Regions from separate parts of the Homo sapiens genome. Here all the other regions are linked to region 1. The links are contacts of gene promoters, found by promoter capture Hi-C in blood cells and fetal thymus (Javierre and others, 2016). All regions are on one chromosome and are shown on one strand. Each heading gives the region's core, a stretch centred on a gene start or on the middle of the fragment in contact. The rest is flanking DNA. Distances are from core to core; before and after follow the strand shown.

Region 1 (4,328 bases), core at 1,169-3,668:
CTCAACCTAAAAATAAGAAGTCTTGGGATCTGCACTCACTTCTTGGGCATGAGAAGTTTGGAGCATGTGCCCATCCCTGTATCATCACTGTGGTTTGAGGATTCCCTGCCTTGATTGGAAGAGTCTAGGTGAGAGCTCAGTTGCAGAGCTAGAGGTCCCATTGTTACAGGCAGGTCTTTGTTCTTAGTGCTCTCAAGATGGTGGTGAGCCGCTCCCAAGATGGCGGCAAGCCTTTTGTTCTCTGACCTGGGGTTCTTGGCCTCATGGATTCCATGGAATGGAACCTTGGGTCATGCAGTGAGTGTTATTGTTCTATTAGAAAACGTGGGTCAAGGAAGAGAACCACGGAACCCAGCGACTAGTGTTCAGTTAGATTAGGACAAACCCGGGCACTTAGCCATGCAGGAACAATGGCGAGCCTCTAGCCTGAACTGGAGCGGCAATGGGCGCCTCGCTGGATCAGGAGCGCAGCGGACTCCCTGCTGGATTCAGAGGGGTGGAAGTCAGCGGCGGGTCTGTGACGGCAGCAAACAGCAGTGGTGGATGGTGAGCAAAAGCTCAGCTCAAGCCGTAACAAACACAGACCAGAAGAGTGTGCAGCTGCAAAATTTAATAGAGTGAAAACAGAGCTCCCATACAATGGGAGAGGACCCAAAGGGGGTTGCCGCTCCCTGCTGGAATGCTTGGGTTTATATCCTGATCATTGTCCCTCCTCCTGTGCTCTCAGGTGATATATGATTTGACTATTTCTTTACCTCCTGCTTTTAACCTAATTTGTATTTTAGTGAGCCCTCTTTACTACCTGACTGGTAGGGTGTGAGCTGAGATGCAAGCCCCATGTTTAAAGGTAGGTGTAGTCACCTTCCCCAGCTAGGCTTAGGAATTCTTAGTCAGCCTAGGAAATCCAGCTAGTCCTGTCTCTCACCATCAGTTTCTCCAAAACAAGTGTTCTGAGACTTCAGGCAGAGGATTTCCCACCAAAGAAATGCCAGTGACTGTTACCAGAATAAGGACAAGAATATATGCCTGGTCAGCAGATGTCCACCCCACCTCCCCATGACCCTTCATAACCCTTTTGCAAGATTCCATCCTGTTGCCCTTCTTAAAATTCTGCATTCCTGCCTTCCATCACACAGACCTGTGGTCTCCCTTCTCTCTGACCACTCTGTCTCTTCTTCCTCCTCCTCCCCTATAAGCAAAGGGATGGTCCAGGATTCAGTGTAAGCCTATCCCTCATAGCTTAACCACAGGGAGTGCATTCCTTCATCCTCTCTGTGCCTTTACACGCTCTGTTCACTCTACCTGGAGCACTATGTCCTCTTCCCACCACTCACCTCTGCGTGTTCACATTCTCTGTATCCTAGTTCAAATACCTCTTCACAAATCTTCCATATCTGATGTCTTTAAGCCAGAAATAAACTCACTCTTTCCTCTAAATTCTTATCTTTATCCCTTCTCAAAGATAGAATGTTCTGTTTTATATATTGAAATATGAATGTGTGTCACTGTTGGCTGTTAGCTACTTGAGGGTGGAAATGTGGTTTATCTTTCCCACTTAGCCCTCTAGCCAATCCCCCTAGTCAGGTAAGCTTTGTAGTCCTTACAAAGCCAGTATTTAAGTGAATTTGCATGGTGCTTCCCACTTTATTAGGGTGTATTCACAGCCATGATCATATTTGCTTCTCAAAGCAAATATGGAAGGCAAGAACAAGTATTAATCAATTTTATATATGAGAAAACTGAGGAACCAAGAGAATAAAAGATTTAACTGAAGATCTCTAAACTGGTTTTGTGGAAAAGCTGGGAGTAGAAATTTAAATCTTTAGAGTTACAGTACCGGTTATTTTCCAAGAAACACTTGCTGGTATGTGTTGTATCATTAAACTGTGGAGAATAGTTGACACCAAGTCGTTTTCTTTCAAATACATTAAATATTTTACTCTGATCCTTCCCTGTGTCTGCCAATTACTGGGATTATATGATAATTTGCTCCTCGCTTAAGAACATTTAACAGGAAACCCAGATCGAGTGGCTCTGTTCTGGCTTGGGTGGGTTTGGGTATTTTTGTTGCTGCTTCTAGTGATGGTTCTTGCTTTCTTTCTCCCTCTGGATCTGTCTTTTGGTACAAACACACCCCCAACCAAGGGAAAGGGTGAGGTGGATTTCTTTCCCTTTAGCACCTAATCTTATGATGAAAAACGCAGGTTCCTTTCTCTTAAAATTCCAAGATCTTTCCCTTCCAATGACTCCGAAGCCTGGGTGGATACCTCAACTCAGGGCGCAGAACACTTGGGGTCTGAGTGTGCAAGGACCATGCGGACCTGTTCAATCCCGGCCTTTGGGCTCCAGCCCAGCCTTCCCGGGGGGAGGAGCCGCATATGCGGCCAGGTCATAAACCCGTCAGGCCGCCGGGCTCCGGATTTGCAGCCTGAGGCAGAGCTCGGGGGCTGTCGGTGGGGACCTTGCAGGAGGGCACCCCAAGCCCGCCCGGCCCGCCCAACCCAGCCCCTGCGCGCAGCCCGGGCCGAGTAGGACCCCGCGCGCCCCTCGCTATGGCGGCGCCCTCGCGGCTCCTGATCCGCGGGGGTCGCGTGGTCAACGATGACTTCTCGGAGGTGGCCGACGTGCTGGTGGAGGACGGCGTGGTGCGGGCACTCGGGCACGACCTGCTGCCTCCCGGGGGCGCTCCTGCGGGGCTGCGGGTCCTCGACGCCGCCGGCAAGCTCGTCCTGCCCGGAGGCATCGACACACACACGCACATGCAGTTCCCCTTCATGGGCTCGCGGTCCATCGACGACTTCCACCAGGGCACCAAGGTACCCGCCCCGCCGCGCCCCCGCCCCGCGGTACCCACGGAGGCTCGGGCAGCCTCCCCAGTCGTCCCGGGGTCCTCAGCAGGGCCGCCTCGCGCGGCGCGGCGCCGAGGAGCTGGGTGGGCGGGAAGGAGCGCAGCCCCGGCGGGTGTCAGAGGGGACTCAGATTCTCTTCGCTGGGGTCCCTTTCAGGCGCCCCTTCTCGGCGGCAGCCGAGCAGCCTTGGCTCAACCAGATGCCCTCGACTCCTCCTTTAGTGGTTAATTTGACGAGTTTAAGGCCATCCCCTTACCCTAATTTCTCTATACCGCTTACTCCCCAAATCTCCCCGCAACCCCATTTTGATTGGTGTTCTGTGGAAGTCGCAAATCTTCCATACATTCTTTAGAATCTTTTTTTAAAGTAGGCACTTCCAGCCATTTCTCCCAACCATTTCGACCCATCCTTTATCCCCAACCAAAACCAAATGAAAAATCCATTCACCTGGTAGTTACAGCCTTGACTCAAAGTGAGCAGTGTAGCAGGTAATGTGTCTGAGTAGGCTAGATGCCCACCGTGTTCACGTTCCCGTCCCCTACCCTCTGCCCCCACTCCCACCCCCAGTAGAAAAAATATAGCCCCGACCAGGGTTTAGAAGAGAAAGTATTCCAGAAATGATCTCGCAACACTCACACACACCAACGCAGCCTCGCAGCAGGCTCTTTTCTCCATCCCACTTGCGCTGGGGACACAACATTCTTGCTGCTGGAGTACCCATAGTTTTACTGATGTTGCAGGAGGGTAATCAGATCACCACTCCCCAGGTGAAGGTAGGCTTGGGTTTCTCTAGATACAAAGGCCTAGAAGTTTGGGTCAATGAAAGGAAACTTAAACCAAACTTGTCCAACCTGTAGGCCGCATGCAGCCCAGGACAGCTTTGAATGCGGCCCAACACAAATTCATAAACTTTCTTAAAACATTATGAGATTTTTTTTCTTAGTTCATTGGCTGTCGTTAGTGTTAGTATATTTCATGTGTGGCCCAAGACAAGAGAAGCCAAAGATTGGACACCCCTGCAACATTTCCCCAAAGCTCCTCAACACAAGATCAAGAGACTAACAGAGCAGCTTTACAGGAACATAGAGTAAAAATTCTACTCTCAGCACTTGGGCTAAAGTAAAGCCCACATCCTCCCTAAGTCCTGTGTTTTGAGCTGCCTTGAGAGAAATGGCTCCTTCCAAAGTGAAGATGTATTGATATACTAAAGGCCTTGGCTTTTCACTTGGACCATACCTTGATGTGTGAAACAAGTTGGGCTATTAAGTCCAGTGTATAGTAGGCTTCCTTCCTCCCTCCCTCCTTCTCTCCATCACTCCCTCCCTTCTTTCTCCCCCCACTACCCCCTCCACCCCTCTCTTTCTTTCTATTCCCATGTTACTGTGGACAGGCTGACAGTCTTCCAAAGCAGTTTTGGTGATAGCTACTTCATTCATATACTGATTTCTGACAGTTTTGCTCTCCTTACACCTCCCCCTC
Region 2 (4,328 bases), core at 538-3,037, 720 kb after region 1:
AAAAGACAACCCACAGAATAAGAAAAAATATTTGCAAATTATACATCTGATAAGGGTCTGGCATCCAAAATATATAAAGAACTCTTACAACCCAACAACAACCCAACCTTAAATGGACAAAGGACTTGAATATTTCTGCATAAACATATCCAAGTGGCCAAAAAGCATAAGAAGTAATGCTCAATGTCATTAGTCACTGGAAAATGCAAATCAAAAGCCATAATGAGATACCACTTCATACCCACTGAAATATATGTCATTTTTTAAAAGAACAGAAAATAAGTGTTGGTGAAGATGTGAGGATAGTGTAACTCTTGTACATTGTTGGTGGGAATGTAAAATGATATAGTTACTGTGAAAAACAACTTGGTAGTTCCTCAAAAACTTAAACATAGAATTATCATATAACCCAGGAATTCCACTCCTAGGTAATATCCAAGATAATTGAAAACAAATCTTTACACAACTTGCAAATGAATGTGCACAGCAGCATTATTCACAATAGCCAAAAAGTATAAACAACAAAAGTGTCTTTCGATTGATGAATGAAAAAAAAATGTGGTATAACCATACAATGGAATGTAATTCAGCCATAAAAAGAAACAAAATATTAATTCTTGCTACAACACAGATGAGCCGTAAAAGCATAATAGGAAATGTCCAGTACAGATAACTCCATAGAATAAGAAAGTAGATTAGTGATTGCAGGGGTATAGGGAAGTAAGGGAGTGACTACTAATGGGTACAGGGGTTTTTTGGGAAGATAGTGATGAAAATGTTCTGGAATTGGACAAATTGTGATGGTTGCATGACACTGTTAATGTACTAAAAACCACTAACTTGTATACTTTAAAATAGTTAATTTTACTATATAAATATCTCAACTAAAAAATGTTTTAATGTAGCTCTTCTACAGAAAATATTAGGCCCAGATGGCTTTTGTATTATTTCAGGCTTTTCTACAAGCAGATCCTGAGCCCAACATTTGATGCAAAGAAGTTTATTTGAATGACAATCCAAAAAAGTATAGTCAGAGTGAAGAAGTGAAACATGAAAGGTAGGAAAGCCAATAGATGTCAATTAAAGAGTAGATTATTTCTAGGGGCAAATCTTGGCCATGATGAGACCTTCTCAGAATCAACCCACTGAAGAGCAAGGGGTCTGGGGTATTTATATATTAGCTCATTGGCATGCCTGTCTCTCCTCTTCAGGTTAGGCCTGTTCCCTTGGCCATAAAATGCCCTTAGGCATAGAGGCACAGGATGCAATTGTTATGTTCAGGAACCATTTGCAGGTACCATTTGGAATGGGCTGAAGGCATATGAGTAGGGTACATATAACAATTGTTACAGTTTTGCAGGTGAATCCTACTAAGCTTTTCAGGAACCATTAATTCGTATCTTAAGTAAATTGTTCCATAAAATTAAATTTAAAAAAAATAAAGCCATACAGCTCATTTTATGAAAATAATATAATTTTGACACAAGATAAGCAAAGCACAGGCCAATTCCACTGACATATATTTGGAGCCAAAACATAAGCCAAAACTTAAATATAAAAATCCTAGCTGGGCGTGGTGGCTCATGCCTGCAATCCCAGCACTTTGGGAGGCTGAGGTGGGTGGATCGCAAGGTCAAGAGATCGAGACCATCCCGGCTAACATGGTGACACCCCATCTCTAGTAAAAATACAAAAATTAGCTAGGCGTGGTGGCGCATGCCTGTAGTCCCAGCTACTCAGGAGGCTGAAGCAGGAGGATCACTTAAACCTGGGAGGCAGAGGTTGCAGTTAGCTGAGATCCTGCCACTGCACTCCAGCCTGGCAACAGAGCAACACTTCGTCTCAAAAAACAAACAAACAAACAACAACAAAAAATCCTACACAACTAGGAAACATACCATATTATAATCAATACCATTTAACTCCTTGAATGTAAGGATGATCCAACTCAAATGTACTTCAACGTATTAATAGACTAAAGGAGAAAAAAATCATTTGATTCTCTCAATCAATGAAGAAAAAGCATTTAATAAAGTTCAACCCCATTTATGTCTTAAAGTAATTCTTAGAAAACTAGAAATACAAGTGTATTTCTTTAACTTGGTAACAGAAATAGGAATAAAAGGACATTTCCTTAGAATGGTAAAGATTATATATCAAAACACTGTGTCAAAGATTATACTTAATGGGGAAGCTTTAGATTCATTCCCTTTAAATTTGCATACTATCTGACCAAATAAAACCAGGTTTTCTCAAATACTTCCTTAGAGCATAAATTAATATATGTTTACAATATAAATGTAAACAAAAGAATCTGTGATATCAATAAAATCATAAGTAATAAATATAGATGCTAATTATACGATATGACAAAAAGGAAACTTCAGTTCAGTTATGCCACTTTTAAATGATCTTGATAGCTAGGTAAACTATAATGCGGTTTTTTTATCCTAATAATCCAGAGTTATCAATTTTTAAAGAATATTTTCAAATCAGACACTGTTAACTCAATGGAATAGAAACTGCAGATAAACAAATTTATCCGGCAATAATTCTGGAGTCATCATAATTTTCTTAACTTAGTTTCCCAATAGATCTCTAAAGTATTCATTGTAGTCAATTGGCAAATATCTTGAAAAGAAAGAAATATATGGCTGATTCCTGTTATATACATGAAATATAGAATGCATTTGTAGATTAGATGTTGACATAAATGGAGTTGTGTCAACAGCTAACAAAAGTACTTGCTTATTAAAGGTGCAGAGTTTTCTTCTGTGTCCAGAGAACATTAGTGATGCTACAGTTATACACCCATGACTAAAACAAGGTACTTGCTAAACAAATTTTGGAAGAGGGCATAAAAGGAACTTAACTGACATCCTTTATAAAAATATCTTAATTGCTAATAATGTAGATCAGACCTTAAAAAGCCTGTTCATGGTACGCTATCTTATAATAAACTAATGCTGTTTAATAGCTTGAAATTTGTTAGAATTCATAAAGCATTAAGAAGAAAGGTACGAGTATATGTAAGATAATGTCCTCAGATATATAATCCTCCTGGGAAAGTGACTCCTAATTATGAAAGAATGCACTGCTCCAGAGAGCCCCTGAGAGATTCTGCCCTTGAGGCATCGTTGTTAAAGAAAACAGCATGAAACCATCTCTCTTGAAGCATCATTTATTCACAAAACATTCAAACCCTAAAGAAAACTATTCACATTATAAGAAAACAGAGGGTATTAGCAACTTACAAGCAGTTAATCAAGACTGGCTTTAGAGAGCTTTTATAAATTAATATTGCTCACTACTAAAGCTAGGAAATCTTATATGACAAAAAGGGTTATTGCGTCTGCTACAAAAGTGAAAAGCTAAAAGGATGTTGCCTGGTAAGTCTGTCAGTGCAATTGTATTAAACCCTTACAGATATAATTATAGAGTTTATAAAACTGCAGAAGGCATTGTTCAGATCATGGCAAAAGTAATGGTAGAAGATATTACTTACAGACTCATTATGTACATATGGTTCTAGTCATTTGCAATCATAACAAAAATAACATATTTGATGAAATGATGGCACATTAAGAGACTTGCCCAGGAATCCACTAGTGAAGAGAATTCAAAACTGTAAATACTCACATTTAGGTTGTTTTGGTTTTACTTGGCTAAATATATAAGGATCTTCAGGATCTTTATATCCATCTCAAGAATGGAGTTGACTCAGTGGATAATCATAAGAAATAGACTAATGGATAATACTTATACTTTAAAGCCTACATTGAAAGCATTCATATTCATAAAGAAACTGTTCTTAAGAAGTTGAGTCCTGATTGGAGTATCAGATGCTACCATTAACATGGGAACTATTATTAATACAGCATTAATACATATAATATTAAATTTTTTCAAGTGGTGAGTAAGTAAACAGGGTGCACTCATACATAGCTTTTGTCACAGTATGTAATCACATTCTCAGATGATCTGTATTAACATACTTATTTAAATCGCAAAGTAAAGTGAGACTTTCTCTGACAGAAAGTTTCATGTGGCTGATTGGTTTGACAACAGGACCAGCTTTGGAAATTAGCTCATATGTTTCACATTTTCGATAAGCTCAAAGCTAAATATATAGTTCTAAGATACTTATAAAAATAACTTAAAGCATGTGAAAAGGCAAAATAACTTTATCAACAGTAACTGTAATCGGCAGGGACGCTAAAATGAGCATTTTCCAAATCCTTTTTAGTATATTGACTTAAACAAGGTGCCTCTAAGTGAAAGGATGGTTAAGTTTAAATAGTCATTTGATAAGTCTTGGTACAGCTTTT
Region 3 (4,328 bases), core at 880-3,379, 700 kb after region 1:
AGAACCACAAAATAATGTAAAAATAAATGAAGTTTGAATGTCAACTTTTCTGTTTTAAACAAGTTGTTATTTATGCTTCAGTGATAATCTATTCTAGATGATTATAAGATATGAATTTATCTGAATTAGGTCACACTCAGAGTACTGAAGAAGAGCATCCCTTTGTGCCTGGTAATTAACAACAAACGAGAGCTTGTGAGACAGACAATTATCCAATCACTATCATCTGCAGAAACAGCATTTGCTGCTTTGTAACAGTTGAAAAATAAAATTTTTCACAAGGTAAGCAGGTTACTTAATGTATTTCAGAGCAGAGCTTCTCAAAGAATATCCCTGGGAGAATAGCATCAGTATCACCAGAAGTGCCGATTCCCAGGTCCCACCCCAGACTTACTGAATAGGAAACTCTGGGGCAGTGCCCAGCAATATTTTTTCCCCAAACCCTCCAGGTAATTCTGATGTTTGCTAACATTTGAGAACCACCGGTCTATGGCAGAGATTCGTAGTTCAATATGTTAAATGGGTTACAAGTATGCTCCTCAGACTGGCTAAGACCAAAGGAGTTCATACACAGCCTTGTCAGTTTACCTTAGTGTGAACTGCTGACTGTACAAGTAGTATTGTTTCTGTGGAGCCCAAAATGAGAAAAAGAATTGGAAACACTATCAGCTTAATTTTCCTCATCTGTTAATATCTAGTGAATATTAATATAAGACAGATGAGCATAAGGTATGAAGGATGATGTCTGATTCCCATTAAAGACTCTCCATGTGTTAATATCCTTCTCACATTGCCTGGGCTATGCACACTGCTTGTTCCTTTTCTGACTAGATCATTTGTTCCTTCCTAAATCACTAGCTCCTATATCCTTCCTTTCCTCCCTTCTTCCCTCCCTTATTCCGTATCCCTCCTTCCCTTATCCTATATTCCTCGCTTTCTCCCTTCCTTATTTCCTTCCTCCCTCCCTTCCTTTCTTCCTTCTTCTTTTTTTTTTTCCTTGAAACAGGGTCTTACCTTGTCACCTAGGCTGGAGTTCAGCGGCACAATATCAGTTCACTGTAGCCTCAACCTCCCAAGTTAAAATGAATCTCCTGCCTCAGTCCCTCAAGTAGCTGGGAGTATGGGCATGTGCCACCACGCCAGCTAATTTTTGTATTTTTGTAGAGATGGGGTTTCACTATGTTGCCCAGGCTGGTCTTGAATGCCTGAGTTCAAGCAATCTGCCCACTTCAGCCTTCCAAAGTGCTAGGATTACAGATGTGAGCCACCATGCCTCCTAGTATTTTCCTATTCATATATTGACACCCTGGTTACCTTTCTTTTCTTCTTCTACCATCTCCTCCTACTCTTGGATTAATAGTTTATTAATCCTTTAAGCTCAGGAATTCCGGATCTACCCACATCAAGTACTGCCATGTGCTGCATAACAATAGTTCAGTCAACAAAAGACCATATATAGAAGGGTGGTTCCCTAATATTATAATACCGTATTTTTACCATGCCTTTTCTATATTTAAATATGTTCAGATACATAAACACTTTTAATTATGTTACTACTGCCTACAATATTTAATACAGTAACATGTTGTACAGGTTTGTAGCCTAGGAGCAACAGACTATATCATCTAGCCTAGGTGTGTAGAAGGCTATACCATCTAGATTTGTTTAAGTACACTCCATGATGTTAGCATGACAAAATTGCCTAATGATGCACTTCTTGGGCTGTATCTCCATCATTAGCAACACAATTGTAGTACAGAAAAACTGATACTTTCACTTGTAGCCCTTTACACAGAAAGCAGCTTAGCTTATAAATTGGCGACGGTATTGAATTACCTCTCACACACACCAATACCTCTCACAAATACATATATGTTGTGAAATGATTTTTCATTAATTGACTATGAAATGATTAATAGCTATTAGAGATAAATTCTGTGTCCATGGAACAAAATTTATCTAATTTGGCAATAAAGTCACAGGCCTTTTGCTAATAGAACGCTTTAACCAATTAAGTTAACCACATAAGGAATGCCATCTAAAATATGTTAGAAATATATATGCCTATAAATCTCCCTGGTTAGAGACTATTAACTGATTCTCATAATTACCAAAAACATCTAGAACCTGAGAATACAAAACATACAGGGTTCAAAATTATAAATTATTATTACCTTCAGTCCTAAATATGTCAAAATTTTAAAAATAATATAGAAATATTAAGAGATGGAATAATCTCTAATGACCCAAATTTGTCACTTACTTCCATATGTTTTATTCCATAAACATTCTTAGGAATGTTAGGAAAGGAAGGGAAAAAAACTAAGGAAAATACAAATATCTTTTTTAAACCACAAAAATAATAACCATAACAGCTGCAGTGAATACTAAAAGAAAGCAAAAAAAAAAAAAAATTTACATTAGGTATATACAATAATTGAGAGCAATCTAAAGGTCTGCAAAATACTATGATTTTCTTCTAAACAGGGACAAAAAAATAGAGTAATTCAAAAAAGGGAGGGATTATAGTTTAAAGACTTACACTAACGAGACCATAGGCCAAGCTCCTATGATCCAGCTAACTGCACAGAAAAAGGAATTCACTAGACTCTACCTCTAACCATTGCCAACCTGCTTATAAATATGTGTGCATTTGTCAGAGAAGAAATAAGGTAAAAGAGTATAAATTGATCAAGTAACCATTACATAAATAGAAAATTGTGAAAGATTCTGGCTAGCTATTCAACAACTTATTTCCTTTCCTCTTAGAAAACTACATTTTCCATGTTATCTTGGGCAGCTATGACCATACAATTATATTCTACCAATGGATTATAAGTGGAATGGGTGTGCCACTTTCATAAACTTTTAAAAATTCTCATGTGCTATCTTCATGCTGTTCAGCCAAGACCTTGGAGATAAGGAAGCCACAGGAAAAAAAGGTGCCTGGGAACCTGAATAATCACTAGGAGGAGAGCACTCAGCTGATCAGCTTACCAGTGTGGACTTCACATAGGTGAAAACTAAACTTCTACTAAGTTGAGCTTTAAAGATTTTTTGAGTTTACCTTCTATAATTGATTGCATTACCTTGACTAATTCACAGTCTTTTTAAAGTACATGCTTATTCAATGTGTATTACTAGCACAATCTTGTATGTGAAGAACAATCCATTACCAGGGCATGAATATGAAAGAGCTTCGGTGTTGTTCACTAACTCATGAAAACAAATTGTGTGCTTTCTCCCTAACTCCACATTCCATGAAGTAATGTGGGTTAGCTTGAAATCAGCTGTGGTGGATGTATTTAGACTAAATAAATTGGAAAATGCCAAAAGTCAGAGATTTTTCTAAAAGAGAGCTGGTTGTTAGCACGTATGAACACACCAGTGACTATAATATATTCACTACATTCTACTAAAAGAATAATATTACATTTAGTTTAGTAGATAAACTTAGATGAAGCTATAATTTGCCATAAAAATTAATTGAAATCATAGAATTCCAATTTATTTATAGATGGGCAAGTAACTATTAACACCAATTCATTATTTATTTACTTATACAATATTTACTAAATGGCTACTATATGCCAAATGCTATGCTAACAGCTGGTGAATAAAGCTCAACAAATATACATTTTGCTACAGAGTATAAAGTGTACTAGGGAGACAATAAGCAAACAAATAATTGCACAAATATTGTTATAATTACGGTAAATGTTACAAAAGGAATGCAGTCCCACCATAGATCTTTCCCTCTGGCCCACATTGTGTTTGGAAAAAAAACAAGAATGCAGAGATCTACAATAGGTCTGGAAATCCAGAGGCTCAACCAGAGCATTACCCTAAAGCATTCCCATGATCAGATCCATGGTGTCTGTGTCTCTAAAAAGGCAGAATTCAAGGGTAGCTTGCGCTACTAAACTACAAGCCCTCACCCAGCACTGCCATGGTGGATTTTGAAAGTAGACACATTGGCTCATATCCCAGAAGGTTAACATTTTCTAATAGGATTCCTTAGGCAATTAAGAGATACTGTCATCTGTAAATACTAAGATTCTGGATTACAAAACAAAAATCAGAAATTTTCTTCATCTGATGCCCCTGATACAAGCAGCAGAACTTCCAGATTTACCATGAATTGTAATCACAGCATTTCTAGCAATAGTCACACTTACAGGCTGAAGCAGGAATGTCTGATGGGTCTTCATTAAATCTCTTGGGAGGCAACAGCACATCCTCCTGAGAGCTTTAACCTTAAGCATTTCCCAGTCTTAGCTGTTACAAATCCTTCTATGTTGGCTATCGCTGTGGCTTTGAAAAATTTA
Region 4 (4,328 bases), core at 726-3,225, 690 kb after region 1:
AAAAAAAAAAAAAAAAAAAAAGATTAGGGGAGATAATATACGGAAGAAATAAACCTTGAAGCATAAGAAAATTCTTCTTCAAGAACTGAGGAGTCTTAAAATTTACTCCAAAACACATTCAAAGAGAACATGCAAATCAAAAAGTTTGAGTAATTATGGAAACAAGATTTTGAACCGTTTTTTAAAATAAGCGTAGTAACTTTTTCAAGTACCTATCAAAGCCATCTCTATAGCAACAATACTAAGTCATTTTGAACAAAATAACTTTTAACACTTGCTGATGAAAAAATAATTTTAACTTTACTAAAAATATATACTTTTGTTCCAGTTCCAAAATGACAAAGAACCAAGCTGGCTTCACTCCCTCCACCCCCACAGAAAATGGAAAACAAATATACAGCACCAATTTATCATCAGCAATATCCCAGAATTCAAACGTGAGGAAGAGACAGTTCTCAGGGCCACAAAGAAGTGAAAAAACTCCAGGCAAGCTGTAAGGTATTTGATGCCTTTCCCCATAATCTGCCCACCACGAAGTGTGTGGAATACTTCCCCCAACTCACAGTTTCTACACTGGATCTCAGTCCTGGAAACTGTTCCTTAACTCAATCAAAGGAGATGCCAAATCAGAGGGGCTATTCCACAGCACCATGCTACAGGAGGTATATTCCATAGATCCCCTGGGCATGAGCCCCTGGCCAGCCTCCCAACACTGCCAGAATATCCCCTTTGGACTTTTCCCATTCAGTATGGGCAGCAACCCAATCATTTACTACAGCCAGGCAAACTTTGGCTTAAGGTACCATCCAGCAACAAAAAGAAGGCAGCAACCTAGAAAAAAAAAATCAACAGGTAAACTAAAAAGAATCTCTAAGAAAACAAGTCAAGTAAAAAACAAAACAAGCCAGACAGGGAAGATTGGAATAAATAACCTTTCAATGCAAAGACATAGAAAGACATCCCCAAGAAGCAATAGCAAACAGGAAACCATTATCTCTCCAAATGGACAAACCAAGGAACCAGCTACTGATGCCACTGAGAGAGTGATATGTGAGCTCTCTCACATAAAAAAATAGCAGTTTTAAGGAAATTCAGTGATCTCCAAGTTAACACAGAAAGCAATTCAGGAATTCATCTGAGAAATTTAGCAACAATATTAAAATAATTTTTAAAAAACAAAAATCTTGCAACTGAGAAATACATTGGCTGAACTGAAAAAAATCATTAGAGGCTCTCAACAACAGAATGGATCAAGCAGAGGAAAGAATCGGAGAGCTTGAAGACAAGCATTTGAAAATACGATCAGAGGAGAAAGAAGAAAAACAATGAAAAATATGAAGATGATCTACATGAAATAGAATATTACCAGAAAAGACCAAATCTAAGAATTATTTGTGTCTAAGAGGGAGTTGAACAAGAGCAAAAGGTAAAAGCTTCAAAGAAATAATGTTGAAATTTTTCCAAAACTTGAGAAATACATAAATATCCAGGTAGAGGAAGGTCAGAGAATATCAAAGAGATTCGACCCAAATAATACTAACTCAAGTCATCTAATAATCAAATCCTCAAAGGTAAAGGATAAAGAGAGGATCCTAAAAGCAGCTAGAAGAAAGAAGCAAGTAACATATAAAGGACTCCAATTCATCTGATAATTTCAAGAGAAATTCATCTGATAATTTCAAGGGATGTTAGAGGCCTCACACTACCTAACTTCAAAATGTACTACAAAGCTATGGTAACCAAATCAGTATGGTACTGGCATAAAAACAGACACATAGACCAATGAAACAGAATAGAGAATCCAGACATAAACCCATGCATTTATAGCCAACTCACTTTCTTTCTTTTTTTTTTTTAATTATACCTTAAGTTTTAGGGTACATGTGCACAATGTGCAGGTTTGTTACGTATGTATATATGTGCCATGTTGGTGTGCTGCACCCATTAACTCGTCATTTACATTAGGTATATCTCCTAATGCTATCCCTCCCCCCTCCCCCCACCCCATGACAGGCCCTAGTGTGTGGTGCTCCCCACCCTGTGTCCAGGTGTTCTCATTGTTCAATTCCCACCTATGAGTGAGAACATGCGGTGTTTGGTTTTCTGTCTTTGCAATAGTTTGCTCAGAATGATGGTTTCCAGCTTCATCCATGACCCTACAAAGGACATGAACTCATCCTTTTTTATGGCTGCATAGTATTCGATAGCCAACTCATTTTCAACAAAGGCACCAAGAACATTCATAGGGTGAAAGGATAGTCTTTTCAATACACTGTGCTGGGAAAACTGGATATTCATATACAGAAGAATGAAACTAGAATCCTATCTTTCACCATATAAAAAAATCAAATCAAGATGGATTAAAAACTTATATTGAAGACCCAAAACTGTGAAATTACTAGAAGAAAACATTGGGAAAATGTTCCAGGACATAGATCTGGGCAAAGATTTTGAATAAGGCCTCAAAATCACAGGCAGCCAAAGCAAAAACAGACAAATGGGATTCTATCAAGCTTAAAAGCTTCTGCACAGAAAAGAAAACAATAAACAAAATGAAGAGACAACCCATATAATGGCAGAAAATATTTGCAAACTATCCATGTAGCAAGGAATTGATAACCAGAATATATAAAGAGCTCAAACAACTCAGTAGCAAAAAACCAACTAATCCAATTTAAAAGTGGGCAAAAGATCTGAACAGACATTTCTCAGAGGAAAACATACAAATGACCAACAGGTATATGAAAAATGTTCAACATCACTAATAATCAGAGAAATGCAAATCAAATCACAATGAGATATCTTCTCACCCCAGTTAAAATGACTTCTTCAAAAAGACAAGGATAAGGGATACTGGTGAGGATGTGGAAAAAGGAGAACTCTCATACACTTGGTGGGGACATAAATTAGTATAGCCACTATGGAGAAGAGTTTGGCGGTTCCTCAAAAAACTAAAAATAGAACTATCATATGATCCAGCAACTGCACTACTGAGTATACATCCAAAAGAAATGAAATTAATGTATTAAAGAGATATCTGCACTCCCATGTTTAATGCAGCACTATTCACAATAGCCAAAATATAAAATCAACCTAAATGCCTATCAATGGATAAACAGATAATGTGACATATATATAGAATGGAATATTATTTGGCCATAAAAAGAATGAAATCCTGTCATTTGCAGCAACATGGATGGAACTGGAGGTCATTATGTTAAGTGAAATAAGCCAAGCACAGAAGACCAAATATTACATGTTCTCACTCATGTAGGAACTACAAAAGTGGATCTCATGAAGATCTCTAGAAAGTAGATTGATGGTTACCAGAGGCCAGAAAGGGCAGAGGGAAGGAGCATAAGGAGGTTGATAAATGGATACAAATATACAATTAGATAGAAATAAGACCTAGTGTTTGATAGATCAGTAGGATGATACTAGTTAACAATAATCTATTGTACATTTCAAAATAGCCAGAAGAGAAAAATTTGAATATTACCAGCATAAAGATAAGATATTTAGGTAATGGATATCCCAACTACCTTGATTTGGTCTTTACATATTATATGAATGTGTCAAAATATCCTATGTATCCCCAAAATATGTATATGTATTATACATCAATAAAAAATCAAAAATACATAAATGTGTACTTTTCATGTCACTCCATTTTTTTACTTCTAACCTATGAAGAAAAGTAACAAACTTTTTAAAAATGTCAAAGTCATAGCAAGTTTTGACATTTTTAAATGTCAGCAAAGAAAAGATAACTTAAAATTATATGCTATGATTGAGTTCCGAAGTTGTTACTCTTGTCTTTGTAGCCAGTTTATACCCAATTTTGTACCCAGTTTATACCCAATTTTGTACCCAGTTTATACCCAATTTCATACCCAGCATGAAACAAAATTCTATTTTTATCTTTTTAAGAGTGGATTTTTTTTATGGTCCACAAATCAATTTTGATAACCAATGTCAGATCAAAATGCATACAGCCCATTTTAAAATACTTTTATATGCATACCATTATGAAATCAAATGATGAAATATTTTAACAGCTTTCAAATGGCAGAATTTATATTTATTTTCTGTCTATATCAACCCTAATTAGCATAAAGCACTGTTCAACTATATGCTATCTTAGACCTCAACTGTATTTTCATCACCAAAATAAATAAAATAGCTTTTTACTTAAATAAAATAGCTTTTATATAAGTTATCTTAATTCCCAAGCAGGATATATGATACATATGCCAATAATGTACTGATTTTCAATATGAAAGCCAGTACAAAACTCCTTTCATTCATTTATTCAGAAATTTCTATTG
Region 5 (4,328 bases), core at 588-3,087, 660 kb after region 1:
GCTGCTTGTTTTCCTGTGCTTCAAAACAACTCTCGGGAAAATAGCTCTTTTGGCCTGAAATCACTCAATCCATAAAACCCAGATCTAGCCTATGAAATGTAGTCTAGGAATAGACATCTTCTTAGCCTCTTCCATCATCCCCCTTTCCTCCTTTGGTGAAAGGTAAGCAAATAAAATTTTTAGTCTTTTTTCAGCCAAAACAGAAGATCTGATGCAAATAAACTCATGCAAATCTAAATGTATTTCAATCTAATCTTATCAACTTAAAAAATATAATTTGTCTGACCTGTAAATATGGACAGAGATCAGGATTAATCAAAGATCCTAGCTACTTAAAAGTAAAGGTGTTTAAGCACCAAATGTGAAAATAGAAAAGAAAGGAAAATATAATATAAACAAGATCTATTCTATCAATTTTCCATCTGTCTTACCCTTTTTATTACCAGCTCCTCCATAAAATACCTAGTTTATTTACTCTTTAGTCTATTTTAGAACTCCCTTGGTTCCAATGATACTTGTAATGATAAACAAATAATATTAATTGTATATGTGAATCAAGTTATCAGTGATTTTATTACTATATTATTTCCTATCTTAACAGAATTTCCCTTGACCTCATATTCCCTTCCAGGTACTACCCCATTTTTCTGCTCCTCTTCACAGCAAAATTTCTTGAAGAAGTTGTCTTTAGTTGCTATGGCCATGTTTTCATTTCACATCCTCTTTTAAATCCATACTAATCAATTTTCTAGCACTAATGTTCTATTGAGATTGTTCTCACCAATTACTTGCATGTTATCAAACTAAACAGACAATTCTCTGTTCTTTTTTTACCATGACTTATCTGTATCATTTGACACTAATGCTATCCATGACTTTTAAACCATTTTTACTCTTCATTCCTGAGACACATTCTTCTGATTTTCTTTCACAGTGTCAATTTTTTCACAGTGTCTTTTGTTGGCTCTCATTCCTCTCTTAGATCTTTAAATGTGTGGAATGTCCAAGGCCCTGTTTTGGCTGTGTTGTGAACCCTCTCTGCTCTTTTTATTTACAGCTCCCCCTTCCCGGTGACTTAGGTCCCATGGCTTTAAATATCTTCTGTATATCTTTGCCCTTATCTTCCCCTAAAACTCCAGACTCATTTAACCATCTGTCAATTTGGAATCCCCAAACGGAAGTCAAAAGGGCATCTCAAACATAACAAGGCCAAACAGAATTCCTGATTTCCTCACCCAAACCTGTTCCTCCCATTTTTTTTCTGTCTTAAAACAACACCATGATTTATCTAGGAATTAACCTTGATATCTCTTTTGCTTTCACACTCCACCACACAAATCAAATCTATCGGTAGGTTCTATCAACTCTATCTTCAAAATGGAACACAAATCCATGAACATTTTCCATCTCACTACTATAATTCTAGTTCCATCTACCAACATCTCTCTAATGGATGACTTCAATAATCTCCTAGCTTCTCGGTGCATTAATCTTGTCCTCTACAAACCATTCTCCACCAAAGATTGCCCACACACACACACACACAAAATAATATCATGCTCCTTCCATGTTTAAACCCTACAATAGTATCTTATCACATTTAAAATAGAATCTAAACCTCCTCCGTCTACAGAAAAGAGATGTGATGCACTGTTTCATCCAAGGCTTTTTGGACCAAATGGCTGGTGACAAAGTTAGAACTAGTACCTAGAGCTTGTGATTTATAGTCCAGTGCTCCTTCCACGGTACTACTGTATCTGTCATTCAGCAACTTCTTATGGAACTCTCATTTAAAATGTAAGTTAGTGTTATAGTTTCTAAGGGTCCTTGGAATTTAAAATCCAAAGGTGATGTAAAAATACAGATAAAAAGAACAAGGCCTTCAGCCTTGAAGATAAACATAACCCTTAAGCCTTATGTTTTCTGAGAGAATAAAACAATAAAGCATAGATTCAAACATGTTTAGACAGAAAAAAGAAATATTGCAAGAGCACAAATCAAATCTTCATAATCCTTCCACCCTCATGACTCTAATTCTTATTAAACGAAGTCAAATAGAAGAGAATCTGTTGTCTTACCACTTTCCAGACAGGGGTTTTAAGTTATATCTCAAAACTTTATGTTAAATTTTTCATATAAGTGAGTTTCAGATATATATCACAGAAATGAAAAAGTTATTTTATATTGCAACAATTTTGACTCCCCACACACTGTAGTCTTGCCATCTTGGTTATATGAAGAATATTATAAATATTTCTGAGAGATGTAACTAAAATTTATTAATCCTGCTTTATCACAACTGATTAAGTCTGAGGCAGAGGAAAGGAAGACTAAAGTGATTAAAGAGATTAAATATACAGAAAACTCAATAGGAATTTGAAAATATCAATGAGGAAAAATAAGGTGAAAACTAGCTCTAAGAAATAGACAAAAAAGTTCAGGTGGAAATATAATAAAAGAAGAAATGAAAAGAAAAAGTGGAAGAGAGATTGCATTAGTAGGGATTGGGAAGTCAAAATAAAGTTTAATTTTCCAGCTCAAGCACTGTGTAATTAGGTAAGCAAAGTGAGAACTGTTCTACTAATAACCTTCAAACCAACCTTGAAAGACCTTATTTCCAAACAAAGAGTTCCAGACCATACCTTAAAATTTCCAACTGTGTCAAATAATAGATGTTAGCAACTCTCAGGTATGTATCACAGAAATAAAAATAGTTGATTATATGTGACAAAAATTTTGACTCTCTGTACTATTTATTTTTGCTGACTTAGTTATTTAAAAAAACAAGAGTAGCTGCAGCTTACTAAAGAAGAAATCTACACAACATATTAATGTTAATAACACTAAGATGCATCCCAAATCTTATGACAATAGTGAATTTATCATATATTGAGCTATCTTGAGATTCATGGGACTAATTCACTCTTCAGGATTCCTAGGGATAAAAAAGGTCACACAAAATTAAACAAAAACACTCAAGAGAAATAACAATTAGTACCATTATTAAGTATTACACATACAGAAAAAAACACATACATAAAAATAGATACACACACTTTTTTTTAAATGAGGCTGGGTGTGGTGGTTCATCCTGTAATGCCAGCGCTTTAAGAGGCCAAGGCAGGAAGATTGCTTGAGGCCAGAGTTTGAGACTAGCCTGGGCAACATAGTCAGACCCCATCTTAACAAAAATAAAAAATTAGCTGGGTGTGATGGCATTCACCTATAGTCCTAGCTACTTAGGAGGCTGAGGTAGGAAGATTGCTTGATCTCAGGGGCTAGGGGTTGCAGTGATCTATGACTGTACCTCTGCACTCCAGCCTGGGTGACAGAGCAAGACTCTCAAAGAAAAAAAAAAGACAATTTCTACAAACTCCTTATAAGTGAAAAACTACAGTTTAAAAACTCCTCTTGGGTTTTAAATCAAATCTCTCAATGGCTACAGCACCTTTGCAGGTAAATACCACAGTCAAAATATGCCAGGATGATTTAGAAAAACTCTGTCTCAATTCACTACATATTAAACATATTCCTATCTATTCCTCCTAGAAATAAGAGTCAGTAAGGATCTACTGCATTTTCTTACCAGGAGGAGCAGAGAAAATAAACCACATAGACAAACTCAAGGACAAAAGCAGAAATCAAGTGAAAAACAGTCAAGGAAGCTGAGTGTTCCATATATGTTATGTTACCTTATATAATCTTGTCCACATACAATCCAATACTCTGTTGGTGGTAGAGGAGGAGACTACGGAAAATTTATTCCAAAATCTAGCAGTTCTTAAAAGTGTAATCCAGTGCCCTCAGTAGAATCCCCAAATCCCTTTCAGAGGATCTGCAGGGTCAAACCTATATGCATAATACTAAAATGTTATTTGCCTTTTTGATTCTCATTCTCTCTTGGGTGTACAGTGGAGTTTTCCAGAGGCTAAAGTATGTGTGATATCTCAATATATTGAATACAGAAGCTGTCTTCCACTAAGTTAGACAATAATGGAATTTCCCAAAAATGTAAAATAATGTCACTTTTCTCACTAAATTTTTCTTTACTTTTTTTGAAATATGCTGTACTAGTTTGCCATTGCTGCAAAACAAATAACCATATTTTTAATAGCTTAAAATGATGTATATTTATTTTCTTGCAGTTTCCATAGGTCAGGAGTCCAAGTATGGTTTAAATGATCCTCTGACTCAGGGCCTGAGAAGGCTGTTATCAAGATGTCCACTGGACCACGTTTATTTCTGAGCTCAGGATCCTTTTGCAAGCTCATGTGATTGTTGGCATGCCTCAGTTCCTTGTGGCTCAAAGACTTAGGTCCTCACTTTCT

What was found. The method cuts DNA at HindIII sites, captures the fragments that hold promoters and counts their contacts. A CHiCAGO score of 5 or more calls a contact.
Region 2: a fragment that was not itself captured here is called in contact with the fragment with the promoter of DPYS in region 1 in 1 of 17 cell types (monocytes); the score reaches 6.9 in monocytes.
Region 3: a contact is called between a fragment that was not itself captured here and the fragment with the promoter of DPYS in region 1, in 7 of 17 cell types (monocytes, M2 macrophages, M1 macrophages and 4 more). The highest score is 16.8, in monocytes.
Region 4: a fragment that was not itself captured here is called in contact with the fragment with the promoter of DPYS in region 1 in 6 of 17 cell types (monocytes, M2 macrophages, M1 macrophages and 3 more); the score reaches 16.6 in monocytes.
Region 5: a contact is called between a fragment that was not itself captured here and the fragment with the promoter of DPYS in region 1, in 3 of 17 cell types (monocytes, total B cells and M2 macrophages). The highest score is 15.1, in monocytes.

What each region holds. Positions count from the first base shown.
Region 1 is chr8:104,465,145-104,469,472 of GRCh38, reverse strand. DPYS (dihydropyrimidinase) reads left to right here and starts at 2,418. Exons shown (of 10, transcript NM_001385.3): 1 at 2,418-2,816. The coding sequence starts at 2,553. LOC105375691 (a long non-coding RNA gene) reads right to left here and starts at 3,703. Exons shown (of 3, transcript XR_928507.3): 1 at 3,486-3,703. RefSeq lists an enhancer at 1-664. The HindIII fragment of the contact is 2,857 bases long and covers 1,592-4,328 here.
Region 2 is chr8:103,741,581-103,745,908 of GRCh38, reverse strand. All of the region lies in intron 5 of RIMS2 (regulating synaptic membrane exocytosis 2), which reads right to left. Among named protein-coding and RNA genes, the nearest start is that of RIMS2, 240 kb to the right of the region's middle. The HindIII fragment of the contact is 819 bases long and covers 1,378-2,196 here.
Region 3 is chr8:103,760,107-103,764,434 of GRCh38, reverse strand. The region is part of intron 5 of RIMS2 (regulating synaptic membrane exocytosis 2); the gene reads right to left. Among named protein-coding and RNA genes, the nearest start is that of RIMS2, 260 kb to the right of the region's middle. The HindIII fragment of the contact is 6,588 bases long and covers 1-4,328 here.
Region 4 is chr8:103,777,432-103,781,759 of GRCh38, reverse strand. All of the region lies in intron 6 of RIMS2 (regulating synaptic membrane exocytosis 2), which reads right to left. Among named protein-coding and RNA genes, the nearest start is that of RIMS2, 280 kb to the right of the region's middle. The HindIII fragment of the contact is 1,080 bases long and covers 1,436-2,515 here.
Region 5 is chr8:103,803,835-103,808,162 of GRCh38, reverse strand. The region is part of intron 6 of RIMS2 (regulating synaptic membrane exocytosis 2); the gene reads right to left. Among named protein-coding and RNA genes, the nearest start is that of RIMS2, 310 kb to the right of the region's middle. The HindIII fragment of the contact is 8,748 bases long and covers 1-4,328 here.